4 separate regions of the Homo sapiens genome follow, and regions 2, 3 and 4 are each linked to region 1. Evidence: promoter capture Hi-C in human tissues and cell types (Jung and others, 2019). All regions are on one chromosome and are shown on one strand. The core of a region is centred on a gene start or on the middle of the fragment in contact, and the rest is flanking DNA. Distances in the headings are between cores, read along the strand shown.

Region 1 (2,987 bases), core at 338-2,837:
ACTCCCCTACTAGGCATGTACCCAAGAGAAATGAAACATAATGCCCACACAAAAACCGGTAAATGAATATTTACAGTTAGCATAATTCTAATAGTCAAAAAGTGGAAACAACCTAAATATTCCTCAATTGATGAATGGAAAATTAAAATGTCGTATAGTCATACAATGGGATATTATTTGGCAATAAAAATAAATGAAGTATTAACATGTAGTACTTCATATCATGGATGAACCTTGAAAACATTACAGTAAGTGAAAGATAGGATGAAAAAGGCTACATATTATATGATTCCATTTATGTGAAATATCCCGAATAGGCAAGATTATAGAGACAGAAACATGAGGGATTGCTTAGGCTTGGGCGGGGCTTGGGAGGAAATGGGTCGTGACTGCCAATGAGTATAGGATTTTGGGGGGTTGTGACAAAAATGTTCTAAAATTTATGGTAGTGATGGGTCTACAACTGTGACTATATTAAAGACAATTTATTATAAGCTTTATTTATTTATTTATTTTTGAGACGGAGTCTTGATCTGTCACCCAGGCTGGAGTGCAGTGGCGCGATCTCACCGCAATCTCTGCCTCCCGGGTTCAAGCGATTCTCCTGCCTCAGCCTCCAGGGTAGCTGGGATTACAAGCATACGCCACCATGCCCGGGTGATTTTTTGTATTTTTAGTAGAGACGGGGGTTTCACCATCATGGCCAGGCTGGTCTCGAACTCCAGACCTGAAGAGATCCGCCCGCCTCAGCCTCCCAAAGGTCGGGGATTACAGGCGCGAGCTACCTCGCCCGGCCTATTACGCACGTTAAATCGGGAATTGTATGGTATAGTACGTGAATGAGACCTTAATAAAGCTGAGTTGTTTGCGTTATTTATTTGTTTTGAACCTGCTTGGTAAAGATGAACTCTGAACTCAATGAAATTGAATTACCTTAGTGATTCCTCAAAACTCCCTGTTAAGGCTTTCCGGTCCTCTGAAAAGCGAAAGTGGGCCGTGACCATCTTCTAAAAACGCCAAAAAATATGGAATGGAGCCCGGGATTTCAGAGCGTAGTCGCTGGGCTCCCAGGCTGAGCCCGCTCCGGGAGCCTCCAGCCGCCCTTTCCGATGCTCCGGGGCCTCCGAGCAACCCAGCGGGCAGTCCCAAGCCGAGGGCTGAACTCCAGGGAGGAGCGCTCGTCACGCCCACACTGGAGGCCGTGGCAGGCCTGGAAACCCGCCCTGCGGGGTCCTAAGAAGCCATTCGAGCTCCCGAAGAGCGAGTCTTCGCAGCCCTTCCCGGCGCGCTCGCATCTGGCGCTGTCCGGAGCCCGCTCGCGACGCACAGGGACGGGAGGCCCGGTTTCCACGGGAGAGGCTGCGGACTGCGGGCCCCGTCCCGAGGCCGGGGGAGTGGGAGACACCCGGCGACCCCCGAGAGGCGATTCTGGCAGTGGTGGCGGTGGCGGTGGCGGTGGCGGCCTACTCGCCCCCTGGAAGCACCGCCCCGCCTGGGTGGCGCGCGCGCCGGCTCCTCCTCTTCCCCTCCGCCGCGGCCCGCCCCGGCCCGCAAACCCAAACACTCCAGGCGCCCGCCCGCCGCGCGTGATTCTCGCCTCGCCGCAGCCCAGCCCTGCGCGCCTTGCCCGGCGGCCCCCGCCCGGCCGCTCCGGGCCCCTGGCCCCGCGGAGCGATGCTGCTGCTGGCTGCCGCCTTCCTCGTGGCCTTCGTGCTGCTGCTGTACATGGTGTCTCCGCTCATCAGCCCCAAGCCCCTCGCCCTGCCCGGGGCGCATGTGGTGGTGAGTGGCCTCCTGTTGCTGCCCCCCGACTTACCGGCCCGCGCGGCCTTTCCGCCGCCGAGGCCGCGTAGCCTACGTCCCTTTTTCCAGGCCGCGGTCCCCAGGAAGGCATGGCCAAATGGGGAAGGTCACCTGCCGCCGTCCACCCCGGCGCTTTTCCCCCGGCCCCGGCACCCGGCCTCGCGGACCCGCCCTCCGCAGCCTCGGGCTCCTCCTAGGGCCGGAGAGCGTGCGACGGGGGACCCCGCCGGCCGCAGGGTTCCCGGGGCCCCAGGGGTTCTGTGGCTGCTCGTGAATCCATGCAACATCCCTGGGATGTGGATGTTTTGTCCTCAGTTTTTCCGATGAGTCAACTGAGGCACAGAGAGGCTGAGAAACTTTGCCAAGGACACAGCGGTCGGTGGTGTGCAGGGTGCGGCGCGCGGCCCCGGGCGGGGGCAGACAGCGGGGAAGTGGGGTCCCAGCCGCCGGGACCCGCCGAGGCAGCTCGGAACTGGAAGATGGCCTGTGCGAGTGACGGGAAGAGCCGCTGCCAGAGGATTCCAGGAAGTGACTCACCTGGGGAAACTGCTCAGAACCCAGCGGGCTGGCGGTGGTGGCTTAGCGGTATTGGGACGCCTGTCCCGTCTACACTGCTTGTCTCTGAGCTCAGCGTGGCATCTGCTGATTGCTGCTCCAATGCAATCCTTTGCTGTTTTCTAGTGGGAAGGATGAGCTAAACGACAAGGCTTGTGTGCGAGGAATGAAGGAGAGGTGGATAGGTGTGATTTATTTCTTGGCGGAAGCTCGCATATTCAGCGATCCCTGTTCTGCAAATGTGGCACCTTTCTTAAACAGAGAGAATGCCTCCTTGCCTGCGCCCAGCACTTTCCCGTTTGCAGTGGCTTTCTCACGAGCATTCTCGTTTGGATCTCCCAAACCCGAGGCACAGTGAGGCGAGGAGTTAGGAGTAAGGAGGGTTGGTTACAAAATTGGCCGCACACCTCTTCCTGTCCTATCTCTGCACCGGAGATCCGAGCCTCCCCGCTGAGCTGGTATAAAATAAGATGGTCGTTTTTCTTAGTATGCTTTAAATCTGTACAAGGGTTTGTGAATGAGAAAATGTATCTGTTTAATTTCTCCTTTGTAAAGCTATTAGCTTTTTCCAACACCTCCTGTTCCTAATGGGGAAAGAGTGTGGATTCATTACAAAAAATAAATAAGAG
Region 2 (2,987 bases), core at 265-2,764, 750 kb after region 1:
GGGATGATACAGGTTTGGAATGATGAATAAGACAGTCCTTACTCTTAATAAGCTTGCGTTCTAGTGGAGTGTGGGAGACCAATACATCAAAATAGTAGTGACCACATGTCCCCAGTCCAAATTTGGGACATGTGGTCTCAAAAGAATGAGTGCACTTTCTGGGGACAACTGGACCACCTGTTTGAAATGTTAGCAGATTTAGGACATGTAGTTGCCATACTTAGAACAGAAGATGGGGTAAGAAAAGCTGTTCAGGAGGCATGTGTAGTTGCTATGCAGCTTCGGGGAGGAAGCGCTCACAGCATCACACTCTCCTTCAGGCTCCACGAAGCAGCTAGCTCAGCGCCTACTTCTGGATCGTCTACCCTTTGCCAGGTACTAAACTAATGGTTGCCGTGCCATGCTCCAGAGCAGCTATGCACTTCCCTTTAAACCAGTCACATGCGTGTGTGAGCTGGCTGTCTGGGCCTGGGTCTTGAAGAAACTTCCCTCTTTCGGTTCATACACATGTGTGTGCAAGGAGACTGTCGGGGTGAAGAGGCTCTGACACTTTAGGGTGGCATCAGGGGCACAGGCTCTCCCCTAAATTCAACTTCAGAAATACAGATTTAAAACAATTCTTTTGAGAAATATTGCATATCTATGAAACCAAAAAAAAAAAAGGAGAAGAAAAACAAAAGAAAGAAAAAAATCCGGCGGGTGGATCACGAGGTCAGGAGATTGAGACCATCCTGGCTAACATGGTGAAACCCCATCTCTATTAAAAATACAAAAAATTAGCCGGGCGTGGTGGTGGACACCTGTAGTCCCAGCTACTTGGGAGGCTGAGGCAGGAGAATGGCGTGAACCCGGGAGGCAGAGCTTGCAGTGAGCCGAGATTGCACCACTGCACTCCAGCCTGGGTGACAGAGCAAGACTCCATCTCAAAAAAAAAAAAAAAGAAAAAAAAGAAAAAAAAATCCATTTGACATGAAGGGGACTGGATATTCATATATTGCTAGTGGTACTAACAATAGATGTATTCTTTATTTATTTTTTTTTTTTTTGAGACAGAGTCTCACTCTGTCACCCAGGCTGGAGTGCAGTGGTGCGCTCTTGGTTCACTGAAACTTCCAACCCTTGGGTTCAAGCAATTCTCATGCCTCAGCCTCCTGCGTAGCTGGGATTACAGGCATGTGCCACCACGCCTGGCTAATTTTGTATTTTTAGTACAGACAGAGTTTCATCATGTTGGCCAGGCTGGTCTTGAACTCCTGATCTTAGGTGATCCACCTGTCTCGGCCTCCCAAAGTGCTGGGATTATAGGCATGAGCCACCATGCCCGGCTTGCGTATTCTTATAGAAAAGGAATCTGACACTATGTGAGAGGGCATCAAACACTTTAGACCCTTTGATCCAATAGTTTCACTTGGGAAAACGTACCTCAAAATGAAAACACAAAACATTGATTTTCTTTTCTATAAAAAAATCAATTGCAGCACTGTAAAATGAACAATGGGAAACAACCAATACTCCACAATGGGAAAACATTAATTAATAAAATCTTTTTAGCCCCTAGACATCGTGAGAGTACACCAGTAAATGAGAATGTGTAGATGAAATATTTAGTGAAGAAAAGTAGAACATGAAATTATATGTACATACTGATTACAACCTTGTAAGCTGATGGAGATACCAATTTATATCCAAAGAGACTTTTTAGGAAAGGAACAGCTGTTTAGTATTGATGAGATTTTTCTGTAAGTTGTTGGCATTGATATTTTTTTAAGAAGGAAGAGTGAGTATGGCAGGGGTGTTAGTTGAACTATGAGTCTTGAATCTCACTGAGTTTTTTGTTGGTTTATGTTATTGAGAGGCATGGTGCAAGTACTTTGTGACTAAGAGTGAAAGGACCATTCTTTGGTTTATTATAATATATTAATAAACTAGAGGTGATTCAAGTGTCTCTACAATGAAGTCACTACCACACGCTTGCATTTTGAGATGCTTTCTTTAGTGGCGGCAGAAGGGACAGAGCCACTTGCCACTTTGTAGTTATTATTGGCTCCTGGTCCTGCAAGTGTGAATGTCAGCTGTCATTCACATGAGGGAAGTTGGAACTGACGAACTGTCGTGATGTGTATGACAGTCTTGTTCCCTAATCATTAATACCATGCCACCTGATCTCTTCAGTCTCAGAAATAATTACATTTCCTCTTTCCTTCTCATGTGAAAGCCTGCCCACTGGAGTAGGCAGGAGAGTAGGTCCTTCCTACCCCCTCTCTTGCCAACAGGAAGGCCTCTCAGCTAAGATCCCCAAAGGAGCAGTGCCCAGGTGTTCTCTGCAGCTTCCCCGTCTTGACGACCTCCTAGTTATGACATCCACTAAATGCTTTCCTTGAGCTCTCTGCAGCATTGCATGCTGGAACCACTCGTCTCCTTGAAACTTTCCTTGGGGTTATGCCTGACTCTAGCACTTAGGAGAAGCTTATGTAGAAGATCAGGCAAAAAAGGGCTTCCCCTCCGCGGAAGGCTGGCACTTCTGCACTCCCTCGGGGCCACCCTGATACCATGCAGAGAACAGAGTAGAGAGGCAGGGTTCAACCCCCCATGGGGCTGCTTCCCTGCCAGTCTGTCTGGCATCCTAACTCCATAAGGTGGCAGCAGGGCAGGAGATTTCTGACACCAGAGAGACCTGACAGCAAGAAGCCTGCAGAAGCAGCCAGACCCAGCCAGACCCAGACCCAGGATTGAGAGTGGGTCTAGGAACCACTCCTCTGTGCACTTAAGCTGCAGCCAGGCCATTCGGAAGGAAGTAAGGACATTTCCCCCTGGAATCGCCTAGCTTCTGTCAGCTCTGTGTGACATGGATGGAAATACATCCCACTTGCCTTGCTAGCAAAACTCCCCACCCCTGCAGAGTCAGCTGCAGGAACGGAGGCAGCCAGGATGGTGACGCAGGAGGGAGGGCGGCCTCCCCCACTCCACGGAGGGCCGCAGGAGCCAGC
Region 3 (2,987 bases), core at 143-2,642, 680 kb after region 1:
TAAAGAGTATAGATGAAAAAGCCAAACTCTAAAATATTTGGAGAGGTTTATTCTGAGCAAATGTGAAGACCATGACTTGTGACACAGCATCGGGCAGTCCTGAGAACATGTGCCCAGGGTGATTGGGTTGCACTGCTTCATTTTATACTTTTTGAGGAAACAGAAGTTACAGGCAGAGACGTAATCTGTACGTGTAAGTTCTAAATTGGTTTGCCCTGGAAAGGGGACATATTGAAGGGCAGGGAGAGGTGGCTTCCAAGACATAGGTGGATTCAAAGATTTCCTGATTGGCAATTGATTGAAAGAGTTAAGCTTTGCCTAAAGAGTTGAAGTCAGCAGAAAGAAATGCTTGGGGCTAAGATAACGGGAGTTGTGGAAGCCAAGAATCTATTACATAGGTTTCAGAGAGAGTAGCTGGTCAATGTCTCTTATCAGAGCTTAAAAGCTATCAGGGGGCCGGGCGCGGTGGCTCACGCCTGTAATCCCAGCACTTTGGGAGGCCGAGGCGGGTGGATCATGAGGTCAGGAGATCGAGACCATCCTGGCTAACAAGGTGAAACCCCGTCTCTACTAAAAATACAAAAAATTAGCCGGGCGCGGTGGCGGGCGCCTGTAGTCCCAGCTACTCAGGAGGCTGAGGCAGGAGAATGGCGTGAACCCGGGAAGCGGAGCTTGCAGTGAGCCGAGATTGCGCCACTGCAGTCCGCAGTCCGGCCTGGGTGACAGAGCGAGACTCCGTCTCAAAAAAAAAAAAAAAAAGCTATCAGGGGCTGGGTGCAGTGGCTCATACCTGTAAACCCAGCGCTTTGGGAGGCCAAGGCTGGTAGATCACATCAGGTCAGGAGTTTAAGACCAGCCTGGCCAACATGGTGAAACCCTGTCTCTACTAAAAATACAAAAATTAGCTGGGCATGGTGGCACACGCCTGTAATTCCAGCTACTCAAGAGGCTGAGTCAGGAGAATCACTTGAACCCGGGAGGCAGAGGTTGCAGTGAGCCTAGGTAGTGCCACTGCACTCCAGCCTGGGTGACAAGAGCGAAACTCCATCTAAAAAAAAAAAAAAAAAAAAAAAAAAGTTATCAGGCTCTTAGTGAAATCTCTTGTGGAACAGGAAAAGACCTGGAAAGAGAAGGAGGCTGTCTGCAGAATGTAAATTTTCCCCACAAGAGATGGCTTTGAAGGGCCATTAAAAAATATGTCAAATAAATATATGTTAGGGTAAAATACTTTGATTTCCTTTAGGGCCTGTTACCTGTCATATGATGTTATCAGTATCTTACTGCTACAGAGAGTCTGTTCTGTCAGTCTGGGATGTGTATGCTAATGTCAATGTTGGTCGGTTGAGTCTGAACTCCAGAAGGGAGAGGGTATAATGAGGCATGTCTGACCCCTGCCTTCCCATTACGGCCTTAACTAGTTTTTCAGGTTTCTTGGAATCCCTTTGGTGGATTCCATGAAACGCAGTTCATTCAGCCGGTTGGGGGACTTAGAATTTTATTTTTGGTTTATAAGAGCTATGGCAGCTTTGAATTATATTACCTTGGGGCTTAGAAGAATTTTCTCAACTGATATACTGATATATTCCAAGCACGAAATTCTTCACTATTATTATCTAAAACCATTTATAATTTATTATTATACATTATTATATTAAACATTATAATTTTCTGTTATAAATATGATTCAGATTGAACTCTCATTTTCTTCCTTGGTGGTATTACTCTGAACTCAGCTGAAGAAAAAGAGTTATATTAGAGTAAAAAATGGGCTGGGCACAGTGGCTCACGCCTGTAATCCCAGCAAATTAGGAGGCCGAGGCAGGCAGATCACTTGAGGTCAGGAGTTCGAGACCAGCCTGGCCAACATGGTGAAACCCCTTCTATAATAAAAATACAAAAAATTAGCCAGGCATGGTGGCTGGCGCCTGTAATCCTAGCTACTTGGGAGGCTGCGGCAGGAGAAATGCTTGCGCCTGGGAGGTGGAGGTTGCAGTGAGCAAAGATTGCACCACGTACTACAGCCTGAGTGACAGAATGAGACTCCATCTCAAAAAAATAAAAATAAAATAAATTAAAAGTAAGATTGGAAGTCAGAGAACAAGAAAATCATAGATGTGGATCTAATGTTTCCTTTGATGAAACTGTCCCCCTCCCGCCTCCCCGTTTCTCTATGTTGGATGCTGCTGAGAGTTCTACATTGTTGGCATAAAGGCTAGAAACCAGTAATAAAATATAATCAGAGCAGAAAGTATTAGAAAAAAAGCCTGGGGAGGAATTTACTTTAAAACAATGTTGCCAGGTTATTTCAGCAGGTAATGTGAGCCACCAATATGTTTTATTTTATGGAAAAGTAGATGATTCAATTCGCACACATGCACATTTATGTATTCAGATACATCCGTTTATTCAGAGGAACATTTAATTTTAGCATGAATTCAAAGAGGTTGAAAGCTGCTTCAAAAGGAGTTTTGAGGACATACCTTAATTAGATGTCCTCATCAACTATCTCCCATTTTTTTCATGTTCCCTGATATGAAGTTGAAAGCATAGTTAGAATTGGAAGTTATAGCATCCCTGCTTTTAGGGGGCTACATATAAAAATTGTGTGATGGCTCATCGTTTAGCAAATTAATAATGCCCTAGTAAATGCACCAGGGCACAGTAAGGCTGGATCAATTTTTACGCAGCCTGCTCTGGAGAGAGCCTTGCTTGAGAACAGCAGGAAACCTTATCATTAATGAATGCTTTTCTCTACTTCCTTTCCTTTGCCTACAACTGATTTGAATAACAATGTCACTTTGCAATCACTAAATTGAAGACATATATTTTTGAGGAAATAATAATCACCTTCCCCTACCCCACTCTCAAGCCAACCAAAAAATCTCCATTAATACATACAGCAGCTGCGTGCAAAGTCTCGAAAGCCTTGAGACTGTCTGCTTGGCTGACTGAGCACATGAGATGAGGATCTGGACCTGGCATGACAG
Region 4 (2,987 bases), core at 172-2,671, 510 kb after region 1:
ATGCCTGTAATCCCAACACTATGGGAGGCCGAGGTGGGTGGATCATTTGAGGTCAGGAGTTTGAGACCAGCCTGGCCAACATGGTGAAACCCCTTCTCTACTAAAAATACAAAAATTAACCAGGCGTGGTGGTGGGTGCCTGTAATTCCAGTTACTCAGGAGGCTGAGGCAGGAGAATCACTTGAACCTGGGAGGCGGAGATTGCAGTGAACCAAGATTGAGCCATCACACTCCACCCTGGGTGACAAGAGCGAAACTTCATCTCAAAAAAAAAAAAAAAAAAAAGTAGCAGGATCAGAGTTTGAACAAGAGCCAGTACTATTAACTCTATGCCATCAGGTCAAGACCTGGATCTCATCAGAAGGGAGGCTCCTCTAATCTCCATCATAAAATAACATAACTACAGCAAAGAAAATTAGATGTACTCCTCAGGATATGTTTAAGCCTTAGAAATGAAGACAAGGTGGTCAGAGACAGTGAGTCCTCCTCGGGAGAAGCAGTAGAGACCATCTGCTGACCAAATACAGATTTCCGAGGAGGGGTGAATCCCCATGGGGCATTATTCCTTGACATCATAGGCTCTGCCCACTCCAATCCCACACAACTTATCCAGCTGGGCAACAGTGATGCCATCCAGTGAGCACCTAATCAAAATTTTAAAGGTTACAGGAAAAGTATAAGAGGTTATAGATATTTGGGAAGTGAAACAGGCATATATAGAAAGTGCCTCAAATCTCTGTTACAGAAAGCTTCTAAAGGATCTCAGAATATAAATTCCTTTTGGCAAAAGCTACTGTACTTATAACCACAGACAAGATAGTTGAAGGCACAAAGGTGAGGTCCACACAACTTGACATACAGGAGAAAGGGCACCAGCTTAACAGTATGTGGGGTAGGTAGGAACAGTTCTACTTACTAGCAACGTGACTTTGAATAAGTCACTTCGCTTACCTGTCCTTCAAGTTTCCGTATCTCTAAAATAGACTAAGTCCTGTCTTATAGACTAATAGACCTGCCCTGATCACCTTAACAAGTTGCTGCAGTAATACCATTTTATTCATTTTAAAAAATCAGGAGAGGCTCTGTAGACCAAGTATCTCCACAGCAATGTCTACCACTCCAAGCAATAAAAGTCTATAAAACAAAAAAGACTACGATGTAAGCCAATGCTCTCGTCGTTGAGCAGTTATAAGGATAAACTGCAATTAGCCAGACCATCAATGAACTATAGACGAAGAGATTCAAGTTGTGATCAGTTGAAGGTAACTGTGCCATAGAAAGTCAGTTTTAGTCTGTATTAACAATAACAGGCTGGGGGCAGAGGCTCACGCCTGTAATCCCAGCACTTTGTGGGGCCGAGGGGGGCAGATCACCTGAGGTCAGGAGTTCGAGACCAGCCTGGCCAACATGGGGAAACTCCATCTCTACTGAAAATACAAAAATTAGCTGGGTGGGGTGGCGGGCACCTGTAATCCCAGCTACTCAGGAGGCTGAGGTAGGAGAATCGCTTGAACCCGAGAGGCAGAGGTTGCAGGGAGCCAAGATTGCGCCACTGCACTCCAGCCTGGGCAACAACAGCAAGACTCCATCTCAAAAACAAAACGAAACAAGAACAAAAAAAAAAAAGAAAAAAGAAAAAAAATTAAGGCTAATTGAGTTAGTAAATTAAATGGGACTTTTCTACCACGATGGACACACCCTGAGAGATACATCAAAATGAACATAATTTCCAACTACCTGCTCAGGTGGTCTCTTTTTTTCCCAAATGACTTGTAAATATACATAAGGGAAGGAGGGTTCATTTGGTCCTCAAAATATTTCCTCTAAAGAACACTGCACTATAAAAAATGCTAATGTGAACAACAAAATTTTCAGATGACTCAATGGGTGGCCACACATTTCTAACATATAACTCAGCTTGACACTTTCCTAAGTCATTTCTTTGCCTATTATTAGGACCCTTATGACAAAAACGTCCCTCCTCTGAGTGTAGCTGGGTTGCATTTGTAAACCAATCTATCTGTCCTATCCTTACCCTATCCCTGCCACGCTTTCAAAATTCTCATCTTCCCTTGCAAGAGGACAGTACTCTGCATCATTCCCATTACTCTTCTTGGTTCAGTTAGTGGATAATCGTCTTTCACAGGCAAGGGAAAGTTCACAGTAACATTAATGTGATGATTTTGCCCCCTCTATACTTTAGTAAAGTTGTATTTATCCTTCTTATGTGCATGGCATGCTCAAAATTAACCAGAATGACTCTAAAAGGCTTGGTCAAAGCAGCTGAAATACCACAAATAATTCTGCTTGTGTGAAGTGAAACACTGCTGTCAACCTGCCGGGCATGGTGGCTCACGCCTGTAATCCCAGCACTTTGGAAGGCCGAGGCGGGCGGATCATGATGTCAGGAGATCGAGACCATCCTGGCTAACACAGTGAAACCCCGTCTCTACTAAAAATACAAAAAATTAGCCGGGCGTGGCGGCAGGCGCCTGTAGTCCCAGCTACTCGGGAGGCTGAGGCAGGAGAATGGCATGAACCCAGGAGGCGGAGCTCGCAGTGAGCCGAGATTGGGCCACTGCACTCCAGCCAGGGTGACACAGTGAGACTCCATCTCAAAAAATAAATAAATAAATAAAAATTAATTACATCATATATCTTCATAATGTTCCAATAAAAGCATATCAAAGCTACCAGTTTTATACTTATGAAATTCTACCTGGAATTTCAGAATCTCACCATTTCTTTTTCTTAAATGGTTAAATGAGATGGAAAAAGATATATAAGCAATAAAATAAGGGCCAGGCACAGTGACTCATGCCTGTAATTTCTACACTTTGGGAGGCTGAGGCGGGAGGACCACTTGAGTCCAGGAGATTGAGGCCAGCCCAGACAACACAGCAAGACCCCATCTCTACAAAATTAAATTAAAAAATTGGCCAGGTGTGGTGGCACGTGCCTATAGTCCTAGCTACATGGGAGGCTGA

What was found. Contacts are between HindIII fragments. The study calls those that stand out against the background at their distance.
Region 2: a contact is called between a fragment that was not itself captured here and the fragment with the promoter of KDSR in region 1, in 2 of the 25 tissues and cell types used here (heart left ventricle and spleen).
Region 3: a fragment that was not itself captured here is called in contact with the fragment with the promoter of KDSR in region 1 in 2 of the 25 tissues and cell types used here (lymphoblastoid cells and spleen).
Region 4: a fragment that was not itself captured here is called in contact with the fragment with the promoter of KDSR in region 1 in 1 of the 25 tissues and cell types used here (dorsolateral prefrontal cortex).

What each region holds. Positions count from the first base shown.
Region 1 is chr18:63,365,806-63,368,792 of GRCh38, reverse strand. It overlaps KDSR (3-ketodihydrosphingosine reductase), which reads left to right and starts at 1,587. Exons shown (of 10, transcript NM_002035.4): 1 at 1,587-1,782. The coding sequence starts at 1,675. It overlaps KDSR-DT (KDSR divergent transcript), which reads right to left and starts at 1,469. Exons shown (of 2, transcript NR_186602.1): 1 at 934-1,469. LOC124904317 (a long non-coding RNA gene) reads left to right here and starts at 1,793. Exons shown (of 2, transcript XR_007066400.1): 1 at 1,793-2,543. RefSeq lists silencers at 1,215-1,264, 1,375-1,824, 1,895-1,954, 2,305-2,354 and enhancers at 1,216-2,163, 2,203-2,497. The HindIII fragment of the contact is 17,335 bases long and covers 1-2,987 here.
Region 2 is chr18:62,612,094-62,615,080 of GRCh38, reverse strand. No RefSeq gene overlaps it. Among named protein-coding and RNA genes, the nearest start is that of ZCCHC2, 91 kb to the right of the region's middle. RefSeq lists an enhancer at 2,795-2,987. The HindIII fragment of the contact is 3,993 bases long and covers 1-2,987 here.
Region 3 is chr18:62,682,522-62,685,508 of GRCh38, reverse strand. No RefSeq gene overlaps it. Among named protein-coding and RNA genes, the nearest start is that of PHLPP1, 32 kb to the left of the region's middle. The HindIII fragment of the contact is 4,652 bases long and covers 1-2,987 here.
Region 4 is chr18:62,851,992-62,854,978 of GRCh38, reverse strand. The region is part of intron 3 of PHLPP1 (PH domain and leucine rich repeat protein phosphatase 1); the gene reads right to left. Among named protein-coding and RNA genes, the nearest start is that of PHLPP1, 140 kb to the right of the region's middle. The HindIII fragment of the contact is 4,110 bases long and covers 1-2,987 here.